Regions from separate parts of the Homo sapiens genome. Here all the other regions are linked to region 2. Evidence: promoter capture Hi-C in 16 types of primary human blood cells and fetal thymus (Javierre and others, 2016). All regions are on one chromosome and are shown on one strand. The core of a region is centred on a gene start or on the middle of the fragment in contact, and the rest is flanking DNA. Distances in the headings are between cores, read along the strand shown.

Evidence for each region. Contacts are between HindIII fragments. The CHiCAGO score rates a contact against its expected background, and 5 or more counts as called.
Region 1: a contact is called between a fragment that was not itself captured here and the fragment with the promoter of AGA in region 2, in 1 of 17 cell types (total B cells). The highest score is 6.1, in total B cells.
Region 3: the fragment with the promoter of CDKN2AIP here is called in contact with the fragment with the promoter of AGA in region 2 in 2 of 17 cell types (naive CD8 T cells and naive B cells); the score reaches 7.5 in naive CD8 T cells.

Annotation. Positions count from the first base shown.
Region 1 is chr4:182,916,144-182,921,196 of GRCh38, forward strand. DCTD (dCMP deaminase) reads right to left here and starts at 1,243. Exons shown (of 6, transcript NM_001921.3): 1 at 1,168-1,243. RefSeq lists a silencer at 875-1,584 and an enhancer at 3,158-3,207. The HindIII fragment of the contact is 487 bases long and covers 2,344-2,830 here.
Region 2 is chr4:177,441,187-177,444,497 of GRCh38, forward strand. AGA (aspartylglucosaminidase) reads right to left here and starts at 1,251. Exons shown (of 9, transcript NM_000027.4): 1 at 1,063-1,251. The coding sequence starts at 1,189. It also overlaps a transcript of AGA-DT not described here. RefSeq lists enhancers at 297-376, 1,203-1,746, 1,837-1,916. The HindIII fragment of the contact is 8,233 bases long and covers 1-3,311 here.
Region 3 is chr4:183,441,841-183,446,392 of GRCh38, forward strand. It overlaps CDKN2AIP (CDKN2A interacting protein), which reads left to right and starts at 2,796. Exons shown (of 3, transcript NM_017632.4): 1 at 2,796-3,229; 2 at 3,695-3,825; 3 at 4,248-4,552. The coding sequence starts at 2,958. RefSeq lists a silencer at 2,271-2,820 and an enhancer at 3,101-3,250. The HindIII fragment of the contact is 3,011 bases long and covers 1,520-4,530 here.

The DNA.
Region 1 (5,053 bases), core at 1,337-3,836, 5.5 Mb after region 2:
CAGATAATTTTTCCCTTCCCTTTCTCCTCAATAATCCAGATGGGACAGAAGTTATCAACTCCGAGTAATGAATTACATGAGAAGAAACTATGAAAAACGTCAAGTGCTACTCCTAAAGCAAGGTTTTTGGAACGTAGTTTACCAGGGGCAAGCAGAGACTGTCTACGGCAGGGAGAGCCCACGAAGGGGGTCCTAGGACTTCAGGGGAGTGGTCGCTTTCAAAAGGAATGAAACAAGGGCAAGGAAGGAAGACAACACAAAAACGGGGTGGGTACCACGGAGAAATCTTGAGAAAGGCGAGGAATGTGGTCTAAAGGAAGGCAAGCATCTCCCAAAACTTCTGCTTCAGGCTCCACACTTTATTTAGGCATCTGCTACAGTGCAGGGCGGCAGTGCCTAAGACAAGGATGCAGTGGAGAGTGGGTGCTGGGAACCACGGTCACCCACTGATTACGCTGCCCCACATCTGAGAGGCCTGGCAACCCCCCTAACAGGAAAAGACAGGTGCTGAATCAGCCTGGTTTCCCACCTGGCTTTAGGGCCAGCATCCATCATCGCTGTGGGGTGCTGGAGAAGTACCTACTAAATAGGAGGGAGGGGGAGCCATGGGGGGCGAGGGAAGAGCAGGAGAGGGAAGGGTCCTGTTAATCCCCTGGGCGCCTTCTCCTGGTGTGGCTGAACGCCCACTAGAGCCCTGTGAGGACTGAGGCCCAGCTGTAGAAACAGAGAGAACTGGAGCTCGAATACAACGATTCAGGAAGACACATCCGGTCACCGTCCCAGGCACACCCCACGCCGCTCGCAACCCCGTCAGCTCTGATCCAGGGCCTACACCCGGCATTCCCAACCCACACACGGGCGCAGGAAGGGATGTGGTGTTCAGACGCCCAGCACCACCTCCCGGGGCACTCCAAGGGGCCCGGCCTCGCACAGGCCGCGGCGCCCGCCGAGAAATCGACCCTGGAGTGACTGCGGGGACCCCGAGCGCCCCCACCCCGCCCGCATTCTCCGATCTAAAGGCTGAGCGCGGCCGAGGCGCCCCCAGCGTCCGCGGCCCCAGGCCCCCGCCCGGCAGCCAGCGCCCCGCGCCACGCGCTCGGGACGGTGCCACGCGGCGGTGGCTAGGGGCGCGCGGGCCGCGTACCCGCACGGCTGGCCCCCGCCCACCATCCGGTGCCGGCTCCGCGCGCAGGCCGGTGCTCGTCCCCGCCGCCGCCGTGCTCAGGGAAGGAAGTCGGGGGAGGAGGCGGGGCCGCCGCGGGGCCGGAAGGGGGCAGCGGCCCGGGCGCCGCGCGTTCGCAGGACGGCGGCTGGCCCCGGGGGCCCGAAGCCCTGAGGGGAGGGAGGGAGGGACGGCGGGGGCGGGTCGCACGCCGCAAAGGCGCTGCTCCGCGTCGCCGTACGCCTCCCGGTCCCCGTGACGCAGCCCGCGGTCCGGCCGGCGGTGTTCAGAGCCCGAGCACAAACTACTTCCCGGGTGCCAGACCGCCCCGAGGTCGCCCCGCTGCCCGGGTCACGCGTGGCGCTGGGTGGCCGCGAGTTGGGCGCTCCCGGGCCTGACTGCACGACCGTCGGGGGCTGCTTGGTTTGGTGGTGGTGGCGGTGGTGAGGTTTTCCCCACCATCCGTGTTCCATCAACTGCTTAGAGACACGGCTATGGAGATTGTGATTAAAAGACGACCCCAAGAATCTAGTGCCGTGAAACTGGCGGGGCGGGAGGTGGGGAGACCTGGTTTGGGTCTCTGGAGTGAGCCCGCTGTGTCGCAGCGTCCCCGTGGGGACCCTTGGCCGGTGGCTGGGTCACAGTTTCACACACTGGATGGGGCAGGGAACTGGGTCCGGCGGGGGCGCTGTGCCTCGAGGCTCAGTGCCTCGAAGCTAGATTTGCATTTGGCTGCGCCTGACAGGCTTTCAGTTTCTGCTCAAATTGTGCGGAAGGGCCTGAGGTGTTTGCTAAAGCCTGCCGCGCCCTGCTCGACCCGTATCACCGCACAGGCACCCCACCTGCATGTTACCTCCTGGTAATGCTCGCCCACTTATATAGTGCACATTTTGTTGCAGTTGTTTCAAAGATGAGAAAAACAGGGCAATAGGAAAGACCATCAGTGACATTTCTGGAGTCGTATGCCCCAAGCAACTTAATCTGGTTTTCATGAACTTCGTTACCCTGTGCAGACGTCTAGCCCCTTACAGTGGTTCTAGCACAGAGAATGACAGAAGAACCCCTTTCTGTTTCATTCATGGGACTTGAGGGGACTGTCAGCACTCCATAAATAACAGCTACTGTAATAATCGCCAGTTCTGATCTGCACATCCCAGATTTGAACTGCTATTCCAAACAAAAGCTTGTTAACTATATTAATTTAGCCTAACGGAGGAAGAATGATGAGAGTAAACAGTTGGTTCTATCTAATTTCTCACTACAGCAGACACATCATTCTTCATCTCATGGTCCAGCTTGTAGATTCAATAATTAAATTATGTACTGCTCTTGGTGGATGCCGGGAAAGCAAAAGGGAGAAATACTTCATCGTTAACTATAGATTTTTTTTTTTTTTTTTTTGCCTTGATAAGACTCAGGCTTGAAAGAGCCACATAGATTAAGATGATGATTTTTAATTTCAAGTTGACTTTACATGGCTGTCTTGTTGCCGCTAAAATGTGTCATATATCCCGAGCCCCTGGTTTCCCTCCTCCTCCCAAATCCACCGCTTGGTCTTTGTCACACTCATCTACAGTCTTTGGGTCTTCATAGATCCATTTCTCTTCTTACCAACCTACAACCCATACATCACCAATTGCTGCTGCTCCTTCAACCACAACATCATTAAGCTTTCTTCCTTCCTCTGCTCGGTAAAGACTGTCATACATAATTTAGTTACTTCTCATCACTCTCCATTTTGGTCAACTCACACACTCCCCTCTGCCATAAATTCAAGCTCCTGCTTGCTGAAAACACATTACCCTGAATGTTCCCGCATTTCACTGAAAGTCCCTCATCTTAAAGATGACATCATTCATAATACAGGAAACCCTCCTGGTTCAGAGTTTCACAACTTGAGGTTTCAAATATTGTACACCAATAGTGAAGCCACGCGGCCAAAGGGGGGAGAAATATATTCCTTGGTATGTCTTTCTCATTAACACCTTGTAACTCCAAGTGTGACTGTAGGTGTTAAATCTCTCTTGCTAATACCTTGTATTTGGGCTTATAATTGAGGATCTTTCTCCACCTACTACAGATACAGAGGTTAGGTATGTGTTCAGCCCTATCTAGATTGGCCTTCCTTGAGGGCCTCACACAGGTTGAACCCAATCAGCACATTCCTAAGGACTACTGTCTTGGCCCTTTTGTTTATGGGGTTTCGTGCTATCTATGTCTAGTCTAGAGCATAACCTGGAATATATTAATATTTCAGTGTGCCTTAGGTAGGGGATCCCGATTAAAAACAGAAGTCAAGGTAAGACTCTTCCAGGGCTGCCTCAGAAGAGGGGTTGATGGCATTTGCAAATGTCTGCCGTACCGAGATACTACCTGCCCCTCCTTCCACCTCCTCTGCCTGCCAAGGTAAGGATGAGACCTGTGACTGGGGAAACAGAGGCAAGGAGTCAGGAAGGTGGCCAATCTGTCCATCAAGTTTGTCATGAGAGAAAGAGCACCGGCCTTGGAGTCAGACCAGACTTTGAACCCTACTCCCACTTCTTACAACCCGAGTAACCTTGAGAAGCTACTTCCATTCTTGGAGTCTCTGTAAAATCAACAATATTCATTTTTTATTAATTCCCTGCTATGTGCTAAGTGCTGTAAATACCATGATGGATACTATAAGCCAGTTCTTGCCCTCACATTCCCCTCTCCGCAAATAAACACAGAAAAAAATGAACCTTATTGCTGGCCCAGTGAACATAGTAAATGTTGTTATAAACTGCCTGTTGTTCTTAATTTGGTGGTTGTCAGTCAGGACCAAAAACTCCTTTGCATAACAACTGCACTTAGAGGCAAAGTGCCACTTTGACTGGTTTTCAAAGGAATAATTGTTTATGTTTCCATGCTAAAGTGCAAACTAGAGAAAACTCTTTTTAAATCTTAAGTAAGGGATGACTGTAAGTCTGCTAAACCACAAAAAAGTCACAATGAAAATTCTAGAAAAAAATAAATATGTGGTCTTATCAATACAGTACAGGTTGAGCATCCCTAACCTGAAAATTCAAAATCCAAAATGCTCTAAGATCTGAAACTTTTTGAGTGCTGACACTCCCACAAGTGGGAAATTCACACCTGACCTCATGTGATAGGTGCACAAAATTATGAAAAATATCCTGTCAAACTACTTCCAGGCTATGTATGTAAGGTGTATATTAAACATAAATATATATTGTGTTTAGATTTGGGTCCCATCCCCAGGACACCTCATTACATATATGCACATATTCCCAAATCTGAAAAAATCCAAAACCTGAAACACTTCTGGTCCTAAGCATTTTGGAGAAGGGATATTCAACCTGTATATACATTTTCGTATGTATGTTAGAGCATGAGGTCAGTTGTTTGTGTTCCATGAAGGGCATACAGACTGCAAATTGACATGACAGAGCACTCCTATCAGAAAAAAAATCAGGATCCCTAAACAGCGTTTTTGTTATGAGTTGAAGCCACCAATTACTTTGTCATTATACATCTTCAAAATTACAATGAAGGGCCGGGTTTGTTGTAATGAACTCACTCCTGTAATCCCAGCAAAGTGGCAGGCCAAGGTGGGAGGATCGCTTGAGCCCAGGAATTTGAGACCAGCCTGGGCTATGCAAGACCCAGTCTCTGCAAAAAAAAAAAAAAAAAAAAGTTTTAAATGAGCCAAGCATGGTGGTGCATGCCTGTAGTCCCAGCTGCTCAGGAGGCTGAGGAGGGAAGATTGCTCGAGCCTAGAAGGTTGAGGCTGTAGTGAGCTGTGACTGCACCACTGCACTCCAGCTTGAGTGACAGAGGGAGACCCCATCTCAAAAAAAAAAAAATCTTTTTTTTCAATGAAGATCAATAAGGAAATGTTAACATGGC
Region 2 (3,311 bases), core at 1-2,500:
TTTACGCAAGTTCCCTCTTTCAATACAGGCAACTTAAACACAGAACTGTCCCCCGCCCAGGCTGATGCAATTTCTTTTCGTCTCATTATGGCTGGGAATATCTTTCTCACAGCCTGCTTCTTCATTTTCTCTGAATCGTATGCACTGCCACCAAATTCTGGAGCCAATTCTGCCCTAGAAAGTTAATACGTTAGCAACCTCAGATGGAGGAGGAGGGGTCTGAAAATGACTCTTCTGGTCATTAAGCAAATGAAAGAAACAAGCATAGTACAATGCGAAAATGCCAAGATAATGGTACGTAAAGGCTATTAACAAGGTGTAGAAGGCAGGAACCTAACTCATTCTGGACACGAGGGCAGTTAAGTCAGGGAACGCTTCCTGGAAGAGGTGATACCTTAGCTTAGTGGTTCTCAACCCTGTCTGCAAATCGAAATCACCTAGGGAGCTTTTTAAAGAAAAACAGTGGCCCTGATTCCAGCAGTTAGATCACAGTCACAGGAGGTGGGCCCCGGCAGGATGATTTTTGAGAAGCTCCCCAGATAGTGTGAATGTACAGCAAAGGTTGGAACCTTGAATTCTAAGTGGCAGGTAAAGTATGACAACACGTGGCAAAAAAAGTAAATGGGAAAAGAGTAGGCTATGGCTGGGACACTATTAGTCGTCTACAAAATTGCAAAGAAGTGAAGGATTAGAAACGAGAGGTGGAGACGTACACAGCCCGTGAAAAGACTGTCAGGCAGAAAAGCGTAGCTGCTACTTGATTAAAGCACAAAGGCCATAACTATGGTCAGCAGCAGGGTGGAAAATACATTGCGCTGGGGGCTGCATGAAGGGAGGACCTAAAATGCAACAGCGGTAGGTGGGGAGGATGCAGTAAAGGCCACTTGCAAGAGACTGAGCGGCGCTGGAGACTCGGGAAGACCTAGAGGGCGGGACCGCGAGGCCCGGCCCAGCCCGGCGCTCTTCCGTCCGCCCTGCCGGGTGACTGCAGCGGGGCGGGCTAGTCATCCCCACCCGCAAGCTCTCGCGGCGCAGCCGCCCGCCCAGGCCGCCAACCCGCACCTGCTTCGGTTGCATTCTTAAAGGGCCAAGTGTTGACGACCAGGGGCAGAGGGCTGGAGCAGCGCACTAGGGCCTGGCAGAGCAGAAACGGCACGAGAAGCACAGGCAAGTTCGACTTCCGCGCCATCCCTGACCACCGAAGAGACCAGCGCGAGAAAAGTCCCGGCAGCCAGCGATCGCCGAACAATTAATCCCCAGTGCCCCGCCCGCCTGGCGCCCACGCCCGCTCTCTCGGGGGTTCGCTCAGGCGTCCCTCAACTCTCGCGAGACGAGGCGTCCCTGGGCCCGCGGGAGAGTTGTGTCACGGGGCACTGAGCTGTTCCCTGCGCTAAGGTGCTTCTTCCTAAGTGCTGTTCAGATTTTTAAAATAGCCAGACAAGTTGCTGCTTTTCCTGTGGTTAAAATAGATTTAGCTTGATATTGGGAATTTAATACAAAATTATTCAACTCTGGGTTGCAGGGCCCCAGGAACTTTAGCCGATTGCTGTGTACTATGGATTTGGTTCTTTTACTGTCTTTTTAATTTAAAGTTGAAGTTGAAAAGTTTGTCAAACTCAGTATATTCTTGGGGATCCCAGGCCTCGGAGGTCTGCAATAGTTATGAGTGTAGGTGAAGCGTGTTTGCTTAGGACCGGATTGATTTTAGATTTTTTTTCCATTCATAGCGTCCGTCATTTTCGCACCACAGCTTTTTGTAGCACTTCCTCTCATTATAAATCCCTGAGCTGGAAGAAAAACAGAAACGGCCTATGTACCCTCTACCTAGCACACTGAAGTGCAGCTTCCTGCACCTCCAGGGCAAGACGGCTACCTCCATTCCTTTTTAAATGTATTTTTACCTTCCTGCCTGGCACTATTAAGTGCTAAATAAATGAATAAGAGGAGGAATGGGGATTTTACGTGCTTGGTGGAGGCTGCTCAGTTTTGTTGCTGGGCAGACGTGCGAACATGAACTAATAATCCCTTTGGGTGTCTGGAATGCCTGCCCAGGTTGCCAAGGCAAGACACATAATCACATAATTTTTAAAAGCATCTATAAATCTATACAAACTTTAAAAATATGAACTAGGCTGGGCACGATGGCTCACGCCTGTAATCCCAACACTTTGGGATGCTGAGGTGGGTGGATCACGAGGTCAGGAGTTCGAGACCAGCCTGGCCAACATAGTGAAACCCGTCTCTACTAAAAATACAAAAATTAGCCGGGCGTGGTGGTGCATGCCTGTAGTCCCAACTACTTGGGAGGCTGAGGCAGAATTGCTTGAAGCCGGGAGGTGGAGATTGTGGTGAGCCGAGATCGCACCACTTCACTCCAGCCTGGACAACAGAGTGAGATTCTGTCTCAAAAATAAATAAATAAATAAATGTAAAAATATAAACTAGGTAGGAGTTGTGAGACTTACAAAACCTTCAAGGCTCTTATTGATTGCTAGGAAATTAAATACATAATTTAAAGAACATAAGATAGCCCAGAAGTATCATTATCCCGTTGGGGAAGTGTTAATTAAAAGATATAATAAAGACAAATTTTCTAAGTTCCTTTCATGGGGTTTGGAAGAGGAACAAGTCATCTGTGCTGGAGTAATCATAACCCAATGGCAGGTGAAACTGGAAACTTGGGTGAAACAGGGTAAGAAAGCCAGAAAAACATACATTGTCCTCTGAGTAAATTTTCCTTAGCTCCTGGGCTGAGTATTTTTATGCAGCCTTAAGGAATTAGGACATGCCTTTAGCAAAAATTGTAAAATACAATACATGGAAAATTGGTCTTAGTACCCCACTGATCTCTCTAGCCTCTTCCTGTTTTTTAAGGTATTTGTGTTTCTTCTGGTGGAAAGAGCCTGATCTGTTACCTCCTACTATGTCTATTTCTCCAAATTCTTTCTTCTTAAATAAAAATTCCTGTCAGAGAAACAGCTAAATTACACTATAGTGGGAATGGCTGATAGAAGGTCTCAATATATCAACTTTTCCATGGATATTTGTATGTATGTATGTATGTATGTATTTATTTTTTGAGATGGAGTCTTGCTCTATCGCCCAGGCTGGAGTTCACTGGTGTAATCTCAGCTCACTGCAACCTCCACCTCCTGCATTCAAGCGATTCTCTTGCCCCAGCCTCCTGAGTAGCTGGGATTGCTACTGCCTACTACCATGCCCGGCTAATTTTTGTATTTTAAGTAGAGACAGGTTTTGCCATTTTGGCCAGGTTGGTCTTGAACTCCTGACACAGGTGATCCACCCACCGC
Region 3 (4,552 bases), core at 1,546-4,045, 6.0 Mb after region 2:
TGACGGGCACTGGTCTGATGACTTGCTGAAAACTAGCTGCATCTCCCTTTGCTGACAAGCTGACCACCCCTAGCCTCATTCACCTTGGACCCTGGTGCTTGGTAGGCACTTCACCATTCAACTCTTTCTTGGGAACCTTTTGGATCTCCTCTAGGCCCTGTGAGATATATGTGCGTAAATGCGTGTGTGTGTGTTATGTATATATACACACACACATATGTATATATATATACACACGTGTGTTAGGAGCAGAGGAGGGAGTTGTATAGTTGGTTATCAAAGCTATAAAAGGCCCTTTCTATGTTCATTTCTAAAGGCCAACGCATACAGGCTCAGGGCACGATTGGGCTGTCTTCTCTCAGAAACTCGGGCAGAGCCAAGTCCTTCTGCTCTTAGACCCAAAATCTACCTAGCAATTTCTAACAGCCAACACTTCCCACCCTGCATCTTATTCCCTACTCCCATAGACTTTCCTAGTTATCACCTAAATTCTCCTCTCACCTTTTCTCTCAGAACGTCTCCCCCAGCTTAGAGAGGAATTTGTCTCTGTAGGTGGGAGGGTCTTTAAAAAAAAATGAGGCCGGGCACAGCGACTCATGCCTATAATCCCAGCACTTTGAGAGGCCGAGGCAGAAGAATTGCTTGATATTAGGAGTTCAAAACCAGCCTGGACAACAGTGAAACCTTGTTTCTACAAAAAAATAAAAAATTAGCCTGTCGTCGTGGTACCCGCCTGCAGTCCCAGCTACTTGTGGTTCATAGTCTTTGAATCTTTATATGCAAAGTCAACTTTTTAAGAATCAAAAAAGAAAAATGCATGTATCTTTTATTCCAAGCACCTGGTTTTTGCACAAGTACTCCATCTTTCAGACTCTATCGCTTTTATTATAATTAAAAAAATTGTTTGAAATTCAGGCTCTACTTGTTCTCCTTTCAAGGCAATGAAGCCCATGAGTGGGAAGAAGACTACAGGGCAACAAGAAAAAAAGTGAGAACATTATTATTATTATTTTTTGAGATGAAGTCTCACTCTGTCACCCAGGCTGGAGTGCAATGGCTTGGTCTCGGCTCACTGCAACCTCTGCCTCCTGAGTTCAAGCGATTCTCCCGCCTCGGCCTACAGAGTAGCTGGGACTACAGGCACGTGCCACCACACTTGGCTAACTTTTGTATTTTTAGTAGAGATGGGGTTTCACTACATTGGCCAGGCTGGTCTCGAACTCCTGACCTCATGATTCGTCCGCCTCGGCCTCCCAAGGTGCTGGGATTACAGGCGTGAGCCACTGCACCTGGCCGTGAGAACATTCTTGATTTAAAATGCACATATATAATCTAGGTATGCGATCATAGCTTCTTTTACTTGCCATGGTCCCCTTGCCAAAGAATTCATGAAAGGAGAAATCGTAATTTCTCCACCTTTTAAATAGCCAGATTTCTGCAATCCGTCCACCCCCTCTAGATTTTCAGCAATTATCTGTGAAAAGGAGGAAAGAACAGCAAACTAGAAGCAAAATCACAAAGCTTCAAAATTTCTTTGTGCCTCCGTTTTTATGTAGTTTCTTTTGGTATGGCAGGAAAATGGGCAATATTGTTTTCATACAATAGCTGTATTTTGTTCCAGCATGCACATAAATTACACAGTTAACCTTATCTGATCTTACCTAAAGTGACCTTTTTTTGCTTGCTTATTCTGATTCATGCATTTTTACATCAAAGTCTACATTTATTGAAAGAAAAATTTCATAATTTATATCATTTAACGTATTTATCTTACAGTGCATGTATACCTGGAATGGGAAACGTAACAATAAGCCAGCCAGCAGTTAGAGTACGTAACTGTGGGAAATGTAAAGTGGAAAAAAATATATAGAAGGAAAAAACAGCTCTAACAGGGAGAGAGGTTTGGGGCCCTATAGATAAATAGGTACATTTCCACTCCACCTCCGGACATCTGCCGGTTGGTGGTAAAGCTGTTGATTTTAGGAAATTCTAGAGACAGAGCGTTGTCGGGGTGTTGTTTTCCTACTGACCAGAACAGGAAGGCAATGCCTGGATTAACTAGAGACCTAATAAACTGCGGGAACAAGCCCTACCGCTGCGGGGCCAGGGCCAGCTTCGAAGGCTGCAAGCCTCACGGCAACACGGAGCCAGGTCCTCGTGTGACCTTACTGTCTACTGCTGCTATGTAAGGGGACTGGCACTCCCGCCCTCCTGAAGGCGCGGAGACCCCGACGGCCTCGGAACGCTTCGCTCGGGCACACTGAAAGCAGCGCGAGACGCAGCTCCCAACACTCTAACATGGAGGCCGGCTTTTGTTTGTTTTGGCCCCGCTCACACACAGGCGTCTCAGGGCGGAGACCACAGGCCCCGCGGCTGCGGGCGGCTCAAGGTCCCCCGGGACGCCCCCCTAGCGGACTTTGGCCGCCGCGCCCGGCTGCCTCCCTTGCCCGGGCCCTGCCCCTCTCGCCTCTGCTCCCGGCGCCGCAGCTGACCCGGCGGGGGAGGAGGACGGCAGGAGCGCGCGGCGTCACAAAGCGAGGACAGAACGCCCGGGGTTCCGCCGAGACTCGGTCGTCCCAGGCCAGCTCGACTTGCAGTCCGCCCTCGTGGGGCGGGAGACGCCCGACGCCCGCCCACCTCACCCCCGGGGTGCCCTCCGTGGCCTCACGGGGACGCAGCGTCGCAGCGGCCCCGGCGCCGCAAAGCGTCTTGGGAGCGCCGGCTCGCGCCGGAAGAACGCGAGGGCGCGCGGCGGCGGCGAGGTTATAAAAGGGAAGAAGCCGGCGGTGGGCGGAAGTGGGCGGTTCGGCGGCTCTGGGCGCTGTTGTTTGGTCTTTAGGCCTGCGGAGGGGCGTTATCTGGAGGGCCGCGGGTGCAGGCCGCAGTGACAGGGCCGCTCGCCCCGCTAGTCCTGCCTGTCTCCCGGTGCAGCTGTGTTCGCGGCCTGCAGGCCCAACATGGCGCAGGAGGTGTCGGAGTACCTGAGCCAGAACCCGCGGGTGGCAGCCTGGGTGGAGGCGCTGCGCTGCGACGGCGAGACTGACAAACACTGGCGCCACCGCCGGGATTTTTTGCTTCGCAACGCCGGGGACCTGGCCCCCGCTGGCGGCGCTGCCTCCGCTAGCACGGATGAAGCTGCCGACGCCGAGAGCGGGACCCGAAACCGGCAGCTGCAGCAGCTCATCTCCTTTTCCATGGCCTGGGCGAACCACGTCTTCCTCGGGTGCCGGTGAGTGAGGCAGCGTCCCTAACCAGCACGCCTCGTTTTGTGTGCCACCTGCAGACCGGGGCCCGGCGCCCTCCGCGGGACCGGCCTCGGCGGGGAGGGGAAGTTGTGAAGCGCGGGAATCCGCCGGCCCGGCTGCCCTCTAAGGGGGAGAAGGGCGTCCCTGCGAGGAGCCGACATGATTCCCGGACGTCTGTGTGCCCGGTGGTGTGGGCGCAGCTGCTGGTAGGGTTGCTTGTGTTAGGGAACAACGCTCTTGGGGACGGGTGCGAGATTTAAGATTAGTGAGGAGGTGCCCTGCCTCCCAGACCCTGGGGCACTTGTTTATGGGGTTCCAGGAAACAGTTCTTGGCGGTTGGTTCACTTTCTTGATTGCAGCCAGGAAATGCAGTCCCTGTGGCCTGTTTTTTGCACAAGTAGGACCTTAGAAAAAACACTTTTTAAAAATGACTTTTCCTTCTTTTTCAGATACCCTCAAAAAGTTATGGATAAAATACTTAGTATGGCTGAAGGCATCAAAGTGACAGATGCTCCAACCTATACAACAAGAGATGAACTGGTTGCCAAGGTGAAGAAAAGAGGGATATCGAGTAGCAATGGTTAGCAGATCATAGATGTGAACATACATAGGAGTTTAGAGCATAAGTTTGATATAATTAGGAATTATTGTTACTAATTTTTTTAACAAGCCAGAATTTTTATGTTATTAATAAGTAATAAAGTTGGAATGTTAAACCTAAAGTATATATCTGTGTCTTTAGGCTTTGAATTTGATAGTTTGCTTTGACTGCTTTAGATTTTGAAGTGTCCACTGTTGTCTGATGCTGTTATTTTTTTAATATTAGACATTCATGATGTTATTCAACACTGTTTTAAGAAATTAATGACTCCACACTTTTTAAAGAAACGATTAGTCTTGAAATGTTTTCACTTTGTGCCTTTATTTTAATGTGTATTTGTCTCATCACCCGTTTTGTACGAGGTATTCTTAGTCACATATCTATGTTTTTCTTCTTTTTAGAAGGGGTAGAAGAGCCATCCAAAAAACGAGTTATAGAAGGAAAAAACAGTTCTGCAGTTGAGCAAGATCACGCAAAAACCTCTGCCAAGACAGAACGTGCATCAGCTCAGCAGGAAAACAGTTCAACGTGTATAGGGTCGGCCATCAAATCAGAGAGTGGGAACTCAGCTCGGAGCTCTGGCATCTCCAGTCAGAATAGCTCTACAAGTGATGGAGATCGATCTGTTTCCAGCCAAAGCAGCAGCAGCGTTTCCTCTCAGGTAACAACGGCAGGATCTGGGAAAGCTTCTGAAGCAGAAGCTCCA